2 separate regions of the Homo sapiens genome follow, and region 2 is linked to region 1. The links are contacts of gene promoters, found by promoter capture Hi-C in human tissues and cell types (Jung and others, 2019). All regions are on one chromosome and are shown on one strand. The core of a region is centred on a gene start or on the middle of the fragment in contact, and the rest is flanking DNA. Distances in the headings are between cores, read along the strand shown.

Region 1 (5,799 bases), core at 826-3,325:
CTGAGGGCTGAAGCCGGTGGAGTACACGCGATGAGAGAAGGGAGTGCGAGGAAAGAAGGAGTAGAGGAAGGGAGGAGAGTAAGAGAGAAAGAGCCGGGAATGAGAGCAGACTCCTGGAGTCTGAGGCACTCATCTGCATAAGGAGTGTGCCTCTGCTTCCCTCACCGCTCATGGTGTGAGCACAGTGGTCTCTGCACCTGTGAGGCAGGTGGACCTTGGGTGACTTTGACATCATCAGGTCAGGGGCCCTTTCCTGTCTGTCTCACCTCCTGCCTCCCTCTTATTCGCTGAGGACTTCCACGGGAGATTAGGAAGGACTCTGACCTTGTGGCAAAAGCCCTGTCCATGGTTCTGCAGCTTGGCTAGAAAGGGGTTAACTGGTGGGCACCCTGGGGAGGGGCTTGGATGCTGCTGTCTTTAAGGGGAGAGCTCCCTTCTCCCAAGGCCAGGAGTGAGGGCACCTGTTGTGACCTCCAGGCCATCTCCCTGTCCAGGTGCGATCACAGCAGCCTCTCCCACAGGTGGCCCACCTTTTGCTGCACTCGATCTCCAGTGGCTCATCCGGCCCCTCTGAGTGGGACCAGGAGGTAGAGAGACTCGGAGGCTAAGTGAGCTGAGGCGTCTTTGGCCAGACGGTTGGGAGAGGAGGCCGAAACTGTTGCCCAGACGAGACCAGAACATCACCTGTGCACTGGGTTTCTTGGGCTGTTCCTCCTCCCAGCTCCTTCTGAGCAGAGGGAAAAGATGCTGAAACCCACCTTTCTCCAGGGCTGGGGCCATGGCATGCACAACCCCACTCCCTCCTGGCCTCACTGGACCCCCCCCCCCAGGACACAGGCTCAACCCCCAGGGGTCTGGGGCTAGAGGGTGCCCGTCTCCATCCCCAAGTAGCAGCAGGATTCTCCCCTTCCATAGGCACTGCCTTCTCCATGCCCCGCTGCTTCCCAGACCTGAGAGACCCTCTTGGAGAAGGTGACAGGATTCAGCTCTGGACACTCACTGGCTGGGGCTGCCCCCCACCTCCAGCCCATTATGTAAGCCCCACGGTGCTGGGCAGAAGGATTGCCCTCTCTTTCCAGAACTCCCCAGCTCTGCCCCTTCCCTTCCCCATACCATTCTGGCCCCAGCCCCTTTCCTTACTGGAAAGCCAAACTTTGTGCAAATTCTTCCCTCCCACCAGTGAGGATGGGGGGGAGGGATTTGAGGAGAAGCTAAGGTTGGGAGGGGGAAGGGAAGGAAAGGAATTTCAGCCCGGTAGCCCCAGCCTCTCGCCCTTTGGGATGTGACTGGCCTCAGGACTCTCCTCCCCGAGTCCCAGTTCCTGGACAGGCCCTTGCCCAAACTTGTGCTCCACTCTCCCCTCTCTCTTCCACAGCCCCCCTCTCCATCCAGCTGAAGCAAGACTTTGCAAAGAGGTCACCCTGCAGAGGTAGACCCTGGGTGACCTCAAAACTGGGGACTCCGGCTCAATTCCATGCAGGGACTTCTGGGGCAGGCCAGGGCCCAGGGCCTGGCTGTATGGACTGGTCCTGTCCTGGACCGGGTGCCCAGGGCCGGCCCAGGAGAAACTGCCCTCTCCACAGGCAGCTGCCACTGCCCGCTGGCCAACTGGAATTCCTGGACACACTCCTGGGGTCCAGCTTTTCGGCCAGGCTCGGCCTGAGAGAGCCCTGCGGGATGCCGCCCACGTAGACAGGGCGGAGGGGAGCCCCAGCACCCACCCTGGGGCTGAGGGGAGAAGTCAGAACGGCCCCAGCCTGCCAGTGTTCCTGTCCCTGTTCCCTCCCAAGTTACAAGGGGGATATTTACAGGAACTGAGCCGGGAGCCCCGGCCCATAACAGCACGCAGGGAAGTCCCTGGGTTGGAGGAGACAAAAGCGGTTGGCACCTACCTGGGGCGAGAGAAGGGTGTTGGCTGGGGCAGGTGGATGCTGCCCGAGTCGGTGAGCCGGGGCCGGCCGGGCCGCCAGCCCCTGTCTGGGCCGCTGTCCTTTGGGCCCTGGCGGCCTCAGCCGCTCGCTGTCCGGGTGCGGCGGCGGCCGCGGCGGCGGTGGCGGGTGAGGGCGCGTGTGTGTGAGCGCGCCCGGAGCCACTGCAGCATCTCTGCATCAAGATGTGCTCCTCCCTCTCCCAGGCTCCGCTCACTGGCTGGCTCTGGTCCTCAGCCAACGCTCGGGGGCCCTGGAGATGGCTTCCTTCTGCCCCCCTCCCACCCCACTTCCGTCCCCACCCTCCTGGCTTTACCTCATTTGCTGTCATTTAAGGACCAGGGAGCGAGCCCAGCGCGCGTCTTCCATAATGCATGGGCCGCTCATGGACAGGCCGCGGGGCGCTGTCTGGCCCGCCTGCCCTCCCGATCCTGCCCAGCCCCACTTCTAGTCCCCCTGCCCAGGGCTGAAGGGGCAGGAGAGGGGCGGGGTGAAGAGGGAAAAGAAAGTGGCTCTTACTCCTCAAACCCTGGAGACCCATGGAGCCAAAACTCCTGGTTTCCCCAGAAATCCCCTATCCGAGGAAGAGATCCAAATCAGAAATCCCAGCTTGCTGTGTGGGGCAAGTGGCAGGGAGGGGCTGTCTCTGTTGCCCGGTCCACCCCATGTTCCTCTTTATTGTTTCCCTTGTTCAAAAGTAGTTTGAGCTTTTTGTCAAAATATCTAAATATTAGAGGACATTTAAAAATACATAGTGAAAGTCCCTCAACCACTACTCTTAATAAATCTAAGTACATGCCCCCAGGTTTATTATTTTCGTGTATACAATTACATGGGTTAGTAGGGTTATTTCACACAAATGTGATTACATAAAACAGTAGGATTGGCCAAAGACTTTTAACTGTGTAACTGATCTTGGACACTTTTACGCATCAGTACGTTTGGATCCAATCCCATTTTTAAGCAACCAGCAGTGTGATGTCATGAAAAGCTCCCTGGATTAGGGGTCTGGGTGTCTGAAGCATACTCTGGGCTCCACAACCGACTGGCTGTGTGTGCTTGGCTAGGTGCCCTGCCCTCTCTGAGCCTCGCTGGTACCTGAAGGGATTAAAGATGGACACAGTCCTGCCAGCTCTGAGATTCTAAGTGCTCACCCTTGTCAGCGATGCCTTTCTCCTGCCCTGCTCCGGTCACGTGGGGGAGTGCCCAGGAAGGCTGTGGCCCGGAGGCGGAGGGACCAGCCATCTGCGGCACCAGTCGGCCCTGTCAGGCTGTCACTGTTGTCTCACCCCCCTCTGATCTGCCTGCTGTCCAGCTTGCACAGGCAAGACCGGTGAGCAGTCCAGATGCTGCAACAGCTGGCAGGGCCAGGCCAGCCTCCCAGTTTTAAATGGCTATACCTGTCAAGCCTGGATCATGGCTCCATGTCTCCCTGAGTGGAGGAGGTCCTGGGGACCTGGGCCAGAATGAGAGGGTCTGGAAAAGGAGAAGGAGTCGGGGAGGTTCTGCTGCTCAGCCTCCAAGGCTGGAATGTCTGCCCAGGTCCCACATGCGCTCCCCTCCTTTCCTTCTGAGCCCCTCCAAAGGGCTTGCCCAACTTGAGAGATAGTCTTCTTTGTTCCTGATGGGGAGGACTTGGATTTTGCTAATGATGTTTCTTAAATAATGTTGAATGCTGTTATATAGACAGACACATCAACCCCTTGCCAGGATATCTTTCCCTTCCTTCCCCTGCCCACACTGTCCTTGCCTATCTGTATGTCTGAGGGCTGGCACATTGGCTCTGAGCTCCTGAGGTGAACCTTGCTCTTTGGCACCATTCAAGTCAGCCTGGGCTCCAAAGAGAGGCTCTGCAAGTTCTCTCCTAGCAGAAAACGGCAGGAACAAGTCCTTGCCAAGAAAAGGATGCTATGTCTGCTGCAGGGGGCTGACGGGCCAGGAAATAGGCTGGCCCAGGAACCAACAGTCTGGAAATGCTTGCAAGGATTGCTTTAGACGGAGACAGCTGTCTTTGTGACTCTATTTTAGGACAGCTGCTGCCCTGTGGTGGGAGCTGGGTCTCTGGGGAGGGTCGTTAGCACAGGTGACTTGGGTCTTAAAGACTCTCAGATCTCAATGCAACCAGCATGCTCCATGTGGACTCTGGCAGACACAATAAGTGAAAACAAGAACATTTGCCAAGCCTAGACTTGGATGGGGAGACAGTTCCCAAAGTCTCATCTTCTCACTTGTCTGAAGCTCTCAGTGAAGTCTAGTATGAATGAGTTTGGGGAGATTAGGGGGATCTGCACTCCCAGTCTCTGAGATGCTCCTGTTCCTGAGGAGAGAGTGGGGTGGGCATTTGGGGGTGCAGGCTGAGTTTTGCTTGTGGGGCCCATTAGCTTGATAATAACAGAAATAATATCTGTTTTGAATGCCTCCCACATGCCGGGAGCTGTGCTAAATGCTTTACCTGAATTACTTGCGCAAGAGGTCCATGTTGTTATTATCCTCACTTTTCAGATGTTGCTCAGTAAGAGTAAGGAACTTGCTCAAAAGAAATAGTAAACAAGTGGAACCCTGGGCAACGTGGCGAAACCCCGTCTCAACAAAAAACACACAAAAATTAGCCAGTGTGGCAGTGCACACCTGTAGTCCCAGCTACCTAGGAGGCTGAGGTAGAAAGATCACCTGAGCCTGGGAGGTTAAGCCTGCAGTGAGCTGTGATCGTGCCACTGCACTCCAGCCTAGATGACAGAGTGAGGCCTGGGATCGGCCTCCAGCATCCTGGCTTAGCCACCGTGCCATGGACTCCAGCTACCTACTGTCTGTTCTTTTGAGGTGGGCAAAATAGGGGGCAGAACAGTTTCTTCTTCTTTGGTGACATCCAGAGCCCACAATCTTCAGTGCAGCTGACCATAAGGGCCACCTCTCCTTTCTGTGGCTGATCAATATGACTCCATGTTGTCCAGAGCTGGGACTCCACATCTCAAAGTTGAGTCCCCACAGACTTTCAAACAGGGCAAGAAAGGGCCAGTGAAGATAATCAGGTGGCTAGTCAAATGGCTTATAAATTTGTCCGCAAACATGTGGTGCTCCCTTGGTGGTGGTGGGTGGGGATCAGAAAGCATTTTGAGGGCCACCCAACCCTGCCCAGACCATCTGCTTCTTCCTACTGTAGCCACACAAGATTGATAGCAATGGAATCCAGTGGGTCTCTAACCGATCAAGAAGGGACCTCTAGGCCCCATCCCTGGGGACAAGTGGGGAGGAGATGAGACCCTGCCATGGCCCCAGGATGCTGCAGCTTTGCTGTCTCTTTCCTCACCACTCCCCCGCCTCACCTCTCCTTTCCTGGCCTCTCCCGCCACCAGCATCTTTGCCCAGACCCTTTTCCCAGGAGGCCATGTATTTATGGAGCAGCTCCTCTGCCTGGAATGTAGGGATCCAAGAGCCAGGGGATGCGGTCTTCAAAGTGCCAGTGACCTTTTTGGAAGCAGTGTGACAGTGGTAACAGGACTGTCCATCCACAGCTCTGGGGAAAACTGATATGGCCATAAGGAAAAGCTCTGCAGACAGACCCGTTTGACACCCAGTCCTGCTACTGAGGAGATGTGAGGCCATGGGCAAGCCACATACCTCTTCACCCAGAATATGGGGATGAAGACACATACCTCACTGAGTTGATGTGAGTGTTGAGTTACACGTGAAGTAGCTAGCACAGCAGGTGCTCAATAAATGTCAGTATTTCCCTTTTGGGATTTAGCCTCCCTCATCTGTAAAACAAGGATATGAGGCAGAGCAGTAAGGGCTGCAAGTGGTTGGGGTGGCTCTGGATTTGTAGTCAAGAGAACTGGACTCTGTCCCAGCTCTGTCACTCCTACCTGGATGA
Region 2 (5,799 bases), core at 1,308-3,807, 220 kb before region 1:
TCAGGACTCTGCTTCTCAGAATTTCTGACCTTTCATACCCACAGTCTCCCTTAAGTGATCTGCTCCAAGGTCTTAACTGTCCCAGTAGCCTGACTTAAAACCCTAACCTGCAATTAGGCTGCTTCTTCCTGCCTTGTTCCCTGCAGTGACAGCAAAAAGCCCATCTCTCCATTTTCCTGACCTTCAGTGTCCTCGCCGACAAAAAGCGGGTAATCACAGCTACTCTCAGGTCTTTTGTGAGAGCTATACAAGATGACGTCTGGCAAGCTGGCATAGTGCGAAGCATACAGAAGGTGCTCATTAAACGCTGAATCTGAATCTAGGCAGCGTAATCCCTTTTTTCCCCTGGGAGAAAAAATGCCTGCAATCAAGCTGGCCTAAATTTATTTCAGAAATTATACCAACAAATTTACTCTGTATTGCTAGAACTACACAAAATTAACGGTTTTTTTTTTTTTATTTGTTTTTTGTTTTTTTTTGGAGACGGGGTCTCTGTCGCCCAGGCTGGAATGCAGTGGGGCCATCTCAGCTCACTGCAACCTATGCCTCCTGGGTTCAAGTGATTCTCCTGCCTCAGCTTCCTGAGTAGCTGGGATTACAGGCATGAGCCGCCACGCCCGGCTAATTTTTTTGTATTTTTAGTAGAAATGGAGTTTCGCCATGTTGGCCAGACTGCTCTTCAACTCCTCATCTCAGGGGATCCACCCGCCTCAGCCTCCCAAAGTGCTGGGATTACAAGCATGAGTCACCGCGCCCGGCCCAAAATTATGTTTTATAGGCAACACATGGCCTTTGATGTTACAGAACTTTTTTTTTTTTTTTTTTTTTGAGACAGAGTCTCGCTCTGTCGCCCAGGCTGCAGTGCAGTGGCGCAATCTTGGCTCACTGCAAGCTCCGCCTCCGGGGTTCACGCCATTCTCCTGCCTCGGCCTCCCGAGTAGCTGGGACTACAGGCGCCTGCCACCATGCCCGGCTAATTTTTTGTATTTTTAGTAGAGATGGGGTTTCACCGTGTTAGCCAGGATGGTCGCGATCTCCTGACCTCATGATCCGCCCGCCTCAGCCTCCCAAAGTGCTGGGATTACAGGCTTGAGCCACCACGCCCAGCCCAGAACCTGTCTCTCTTATAAAGCTGCTGCCCTTTCCACAGATGCCCAGCTCTCTTTCACTGTCTTCTTGGGAGAAAGAATATCTAGAAAATGGGTTCTGGGGCCAGGTGCAGTGCCTCATGCCTGTAATCCCAGCACTTTGGGAGGCTGAGGCGGGTGGATCATGAGGTCAGGGGTTCGAGACCAGCCTAACCAACATGGTGAAACCCTGTCTCTACTAAAAATACAAAAATTAGCTGGGCGTGGTGGCGGACGCCTGTAATCCCAGCTACTGAGGAGGCTGAGGCAGGAGAATTTCTTGAACTGGGAGGCAGAGGTTGCAGTGAGCCGAGATCACGCCACTGCACACCAGCCTGGGCGACAGAGCGAGACTCCGTCTCAAAAAAAAAAAAAAAAGAAAAGAAAATGGGTTCTGAGTCTGGCTGCATCACTGCCATTTGCTCATCTTTGTAACAGGGACAGAGTCTGTCCCAACTACTTAGGGGGAGAGTGGGAGGAGCTAATAAGAAATGGATGTGAAATGCTGTGAAAAGCAAAAGTGTTTTAGGACTATACAGGAGTGTAAAATAGCAAAGTCTCCACCTGCCGTGGCTCCTTCCTAGCAGCTTGGCTCTCTCCTCCCTTGATTTGGCATCTTTCTGGCTTACAAATGGAAAAGCGGAGTTGAAGCTGGCTGTGAAATCCCCATTAATGAGAGGAGAAGAAACACTCCTGGGAAAAACAGCTGGGGCCTGATGGTGGGTGCAGAGGCCTGGGCTGAAGCCCTGGCCCCCTCGTCCACCCCTCTTCTCTACCCTAGGACCCAGACTTGAGCCTAACAGTCCTGCAGCAGGACACCAGCTCCTTCCGTCCCTCCACAGAGGCCTGGACACCTCCTTGGTGACATGAAGGTCTGCAATGCCTGGATTGAGCGGGTCAGTCTCCAGTCACAGAACATATCCCCATTTTATTCTCTTCCCTGTGGAGGACTCAGTTCCACTGGCTTCCAGAAAGGTGGCATATTTTCCCTATGGCCTCTGGGCTCTTCTCTTTTTCTCAAATTCTAAATGTTTTGGACAAAGGATAAGGATAACAATTATAGTTAGCCTTCTGTATCTGAGAATTCCACATCCATGGATTCAACCAACCATGGATTAAAATAATAATAATACAAATTTTAAAATACAGGGGCCAGGCGCAGTGGCTCACACCTGTAATCCCAGCACTTTGGGAGGCCAAGGCGGGCGGATCACCTGAGGTTAGGAGTTGGAGACCAGCCTGGCCAACATGGTGAAACCCTGTCTCTACTAACAATACAAAAATTAGCTGGGTGTGGGATGTGGTGGCGGGCACCCGTAGTCCCAGCTACTCGGGAGGCTGAGGCGGGAGAATGGCGCGAACCTGGGAGGCGGAGCTTGCAGTGAACCGAGATCACGCCACTGCACTGCAGCCTGGGCAACAGAGCGAGACTCCGTCCCAAAAAAAAAAAACAAAATTAACTGAGTGTGGTGGCATGTTCCGGTTGTTCCAGCTACTCAGGAGGCTGAGGCAGAAGAATCACTTGAACCTGGGAGGCGGAAGTTGCAGTGAGCCAAGACTGCACCACTGCACTCCAGCCTGGGTGACAGAGACTCCGTCTCAAAAACAAAAACAAAAAACAAAAAACAAGAAACAACAGTGTCACACTATTTTCTATTTTCATAGTATTTACATTGTACTAGGTATTGTACGTAATCTAGAGATGATTTAAAGGGAGGATGTGTGCAGGTTCTATGCAAATACTACACTATTTACTGTATGAGACTTAAGCAATCTGGAACTTTGGTATCTGCAGGGGGTCTTGGAACCAATCTCCTTCAAACACTAACATTTCTTGACATACGTCAGACTTGTCTCTCAGTGTTTACACCTATTAATTCATTTAATCCCAGTATTAACCTCACAAGATGGGTAGCACTATTATTTCCATTTTACAGGAGAGAAAACCAAGGCCTACAGATGTAACTTGCCCAGGACTACACCACTAGTAAGTAAAGAACCTAGAATATAAATCCTGTCTGGCTCCAAAACTCAGGGCCTAACCTCACCTTGGAGGGCTGGGTAGCTCTGACAGATCCACAGCTTAAGACACCTTTGGCTGGGAGAGCTGGCCCTCTGCCACCTTTTTAGGAAGCAAGAGTCTAATCAGTGGTTATCAACCACAGCCCAGCCTCACTCCACAGCGATGAAACTGGAATTTCATATAGCTAAGACTGCAGGCTTTTTTTGTTTTTTGTTGAGTCAGAATCACTCTGCTGCCCAGGCTGGAGTGCTGGAGTGCTGGAGTGCAGTAAGGTAATCATGGTTCACTGCAGCCTTGACCTCCCCAGGCTCAAATCCTCCCACCTCAGCCTCCCCAGTAGCAGGGACTACAGGTACATGCCACCACACCTGGCTAATTTGTGTATTTTTTTGTAGAGAAAGGGTTTTGCCATGTTGCCCAGGCTGGTCTCAAACTCCTGGGCTTAAGCAATCCTCTTGCCTTGGCCTCCTAAAGTGCTGGGATTACAGGCCTGAGCCAAGCTGCACTCGGCCAGACTGTGGGTTTTTACACCCTGAGAGAGCAAGGAAAAAGAAAGGAGTTCTCCCCAGCCCCGTCCTGCCTTCTCCATATCTGAGGGCGTGCAAATCCTTAGAAAGGTCCAAATATTGGCCATAGCATTTAAAATCACCTCTGAAGACATCACGGTGGCATCTCCAGCCTTCCTCACTGGAGGTAACCCTTAATCTCACTGGTCTCCATGCAGACTCCACTTGCCCACCCAGCCCCGTCTCGTGCTTAGGGGTGTGTGTGTGTGTACCTGCATGCATGTGGGCAAACCTCAGAACAAGAGAGAGAAGAGGTTTGTGTGTGTTGCGGGAGGCGGTGGGGGGTGCTTGAGGGAACACTCTGTGGGAGATACCAAGATCCTGTTTGTGGTTTTTGCATTCGAGGCTGGAACACCTCGGCAACCACTTCCATCTGAATTAACTCCCTTCAATAACTCCCCCTGCCAACCAGAGACTTTTACTACGGACTCACCACGAGATCCTAGTTGAGACTGAGCTCATTCCTGCTTGTAGCCTGGAGCCCAACCTCAGGAAAGCATCTAAGAGCTTCTCCCCACCACCAGCCTCCTCCTTAGATCCTGCAGTCCCCAACTCCACCCATCAGGGATGCAAAGAAGGACACGGGGATGTAGGCAGAGTTTGCCTGGAGCCCCAGCCTGCACTGAGACACTCCTCAAATCAAGAATGGGGTAGCCTCCCTCTGGGGCAAACCTCACATTTATCTCACTTGGATCTGCCTTCTTCACACACAAGCTGACCAAACCCAGGAAAGGTTATTTCAAAGTTTGGAGAACAAGGGAAACACCCTGCATGTTAACAGGAAATAGCAGACATCCCCCCATCCTTCCCCTCCAGGATCTTTAGTCCCTGCCCCCATCCCTGGAGGAAACCCAAGACCTCCAGATCCCTGAGAGGCTGAGCTGTCTAGTTACAACTCTGAGAAGCAGAGTCGGAGCTGGCTGGGAAATCCCCAGGAATGAGAGAAGAGACACTCCTGGGCCTGGTGTGTGGAGGGGCCTTGGGCTGGGATCCTGGTCCTCTTGCTAGCCCCTCTTCTCTACCCCAGGGTCAAGATTCCAGCCTGGGAGTCCTGCAGCAGGACGCCGGCTTTTTCCTACCCCTCACAGAGGTTTACAATGCCTGGGATCTGCTGTTGGGTCTCCAATCACAGAACATCACTTTGCTCTCCTTCCCCGTGGAGGGAGCTGGCATGTCTGAAGAAGGTGGGGAGCTCTCCATGCCCTGCCTTCCCCAGCACATGTACCCAGGGTGACAGCTACCTTTCAGGACTCGATGGAGAGAGGGCAACCAAGGTAAACAGAGCCAAGGAGCTGGTACACAGATAGGGACAGCTTTAACAAAGGAAAGATTATGCTTTAACAAAGGAAAGAAAATTAGTGAACAAGAAGAAAAAGATGAGAAAGCTGTTCAGAGTGCTGGAACAGGACAGAGGGTGAGAAAAGGAGAAAGACTTGCCAAAAAGAACAGCCATGAGACAGGATACAGGGTCTGCGGAAGGTAAAGGAAAGGGCTTTAAAGTTGGAGTTGGGCACTAATTTAGATCCTGGCTCTGTCACTTACCAGCTGAGAGCTATCAGGACGATGAGATGAAACACTGAGTAAAGGGCATAAAGCAGGTGCTTAGAAACAAATACGAACAAATTAAGAGACGCTTCACACCCTTAGAATGACTATAATAATTTTTTTTTTTTTGAGACGGGTTCTCACTCCATGGCCTAGACTGGAGTGCAATGGCATGATCGTGGATCACTGTAGTCTCGACGTCCCAGGCTTAAGCAATCCTCCCACCTCAGCTTCCTAAGTAGCTGGGGCCACAGGCATGAGTCACCAAGCCCAGCCCCTAGTAATTTTTAGAAAGGAAATAAGTGGGCTGCACACAGCGGCTCACACCTGTGGTCCCAGCACTTTTGGAGGCCAAAATGGGAAAATTGCTTGAGTCCAGGAGTTTAAGACCAGCCTGGGCAACACAGCAAGACCTGTCTCTACAAAAAATAAAAAAACAGCCAGGTGTGGTGGTGCATGCCTGTAGTCCCAGCTACTCAGGAAGCTGAGGCAGGAGGATGGCTTGAGCCCAGGAGTTCGAGGCTGCAGTGAGCTATGA

The links. Contacts are between HindIII fragments. The study calls those that stand out against the background at their distance.
Region 2: a fragment that was not itself captured here is called in contact with the fragment with the promoter of CNTN2 in region 1 in 2 of the 25 tissues and cell types used here (dorsolateral prefrontal cortex and pancreas).

The regions. Positions count from the first base shown.
Region 1 is chr1:205,039,488-205,045,286 of GRCh38, reverse strand. CNTN2 (contactin 2) reads right to left here and starts at 2,075. Exons shown (of 23, transcript NM_005076.5): 1 at 1,893-2,075. RefSeq lists cis regulatory regions at 2,217, 2,309 and enhancers at 2,145-2,289, 2,237-2,381. The HindIII fragment of the contact is 16,049 bases long and covers 1-5,799 here.
Region 2 is chr1:205,261,270-205,267,068 of GRCh38, reverse strand. The region is part of intron 2 of TMCC2 (transmembrane and coiled-coil domain family 2); the gene reads right to left. Among named protein-coding and RNA genes, the nearest start is that of TMCC2-AS1, 27 kb to the right of the region's middle. RefSeq lists an enhancer at 3,107-3,804. The HindIII fragment of the contact is 8,685 bases long and covers 1-5,799 here.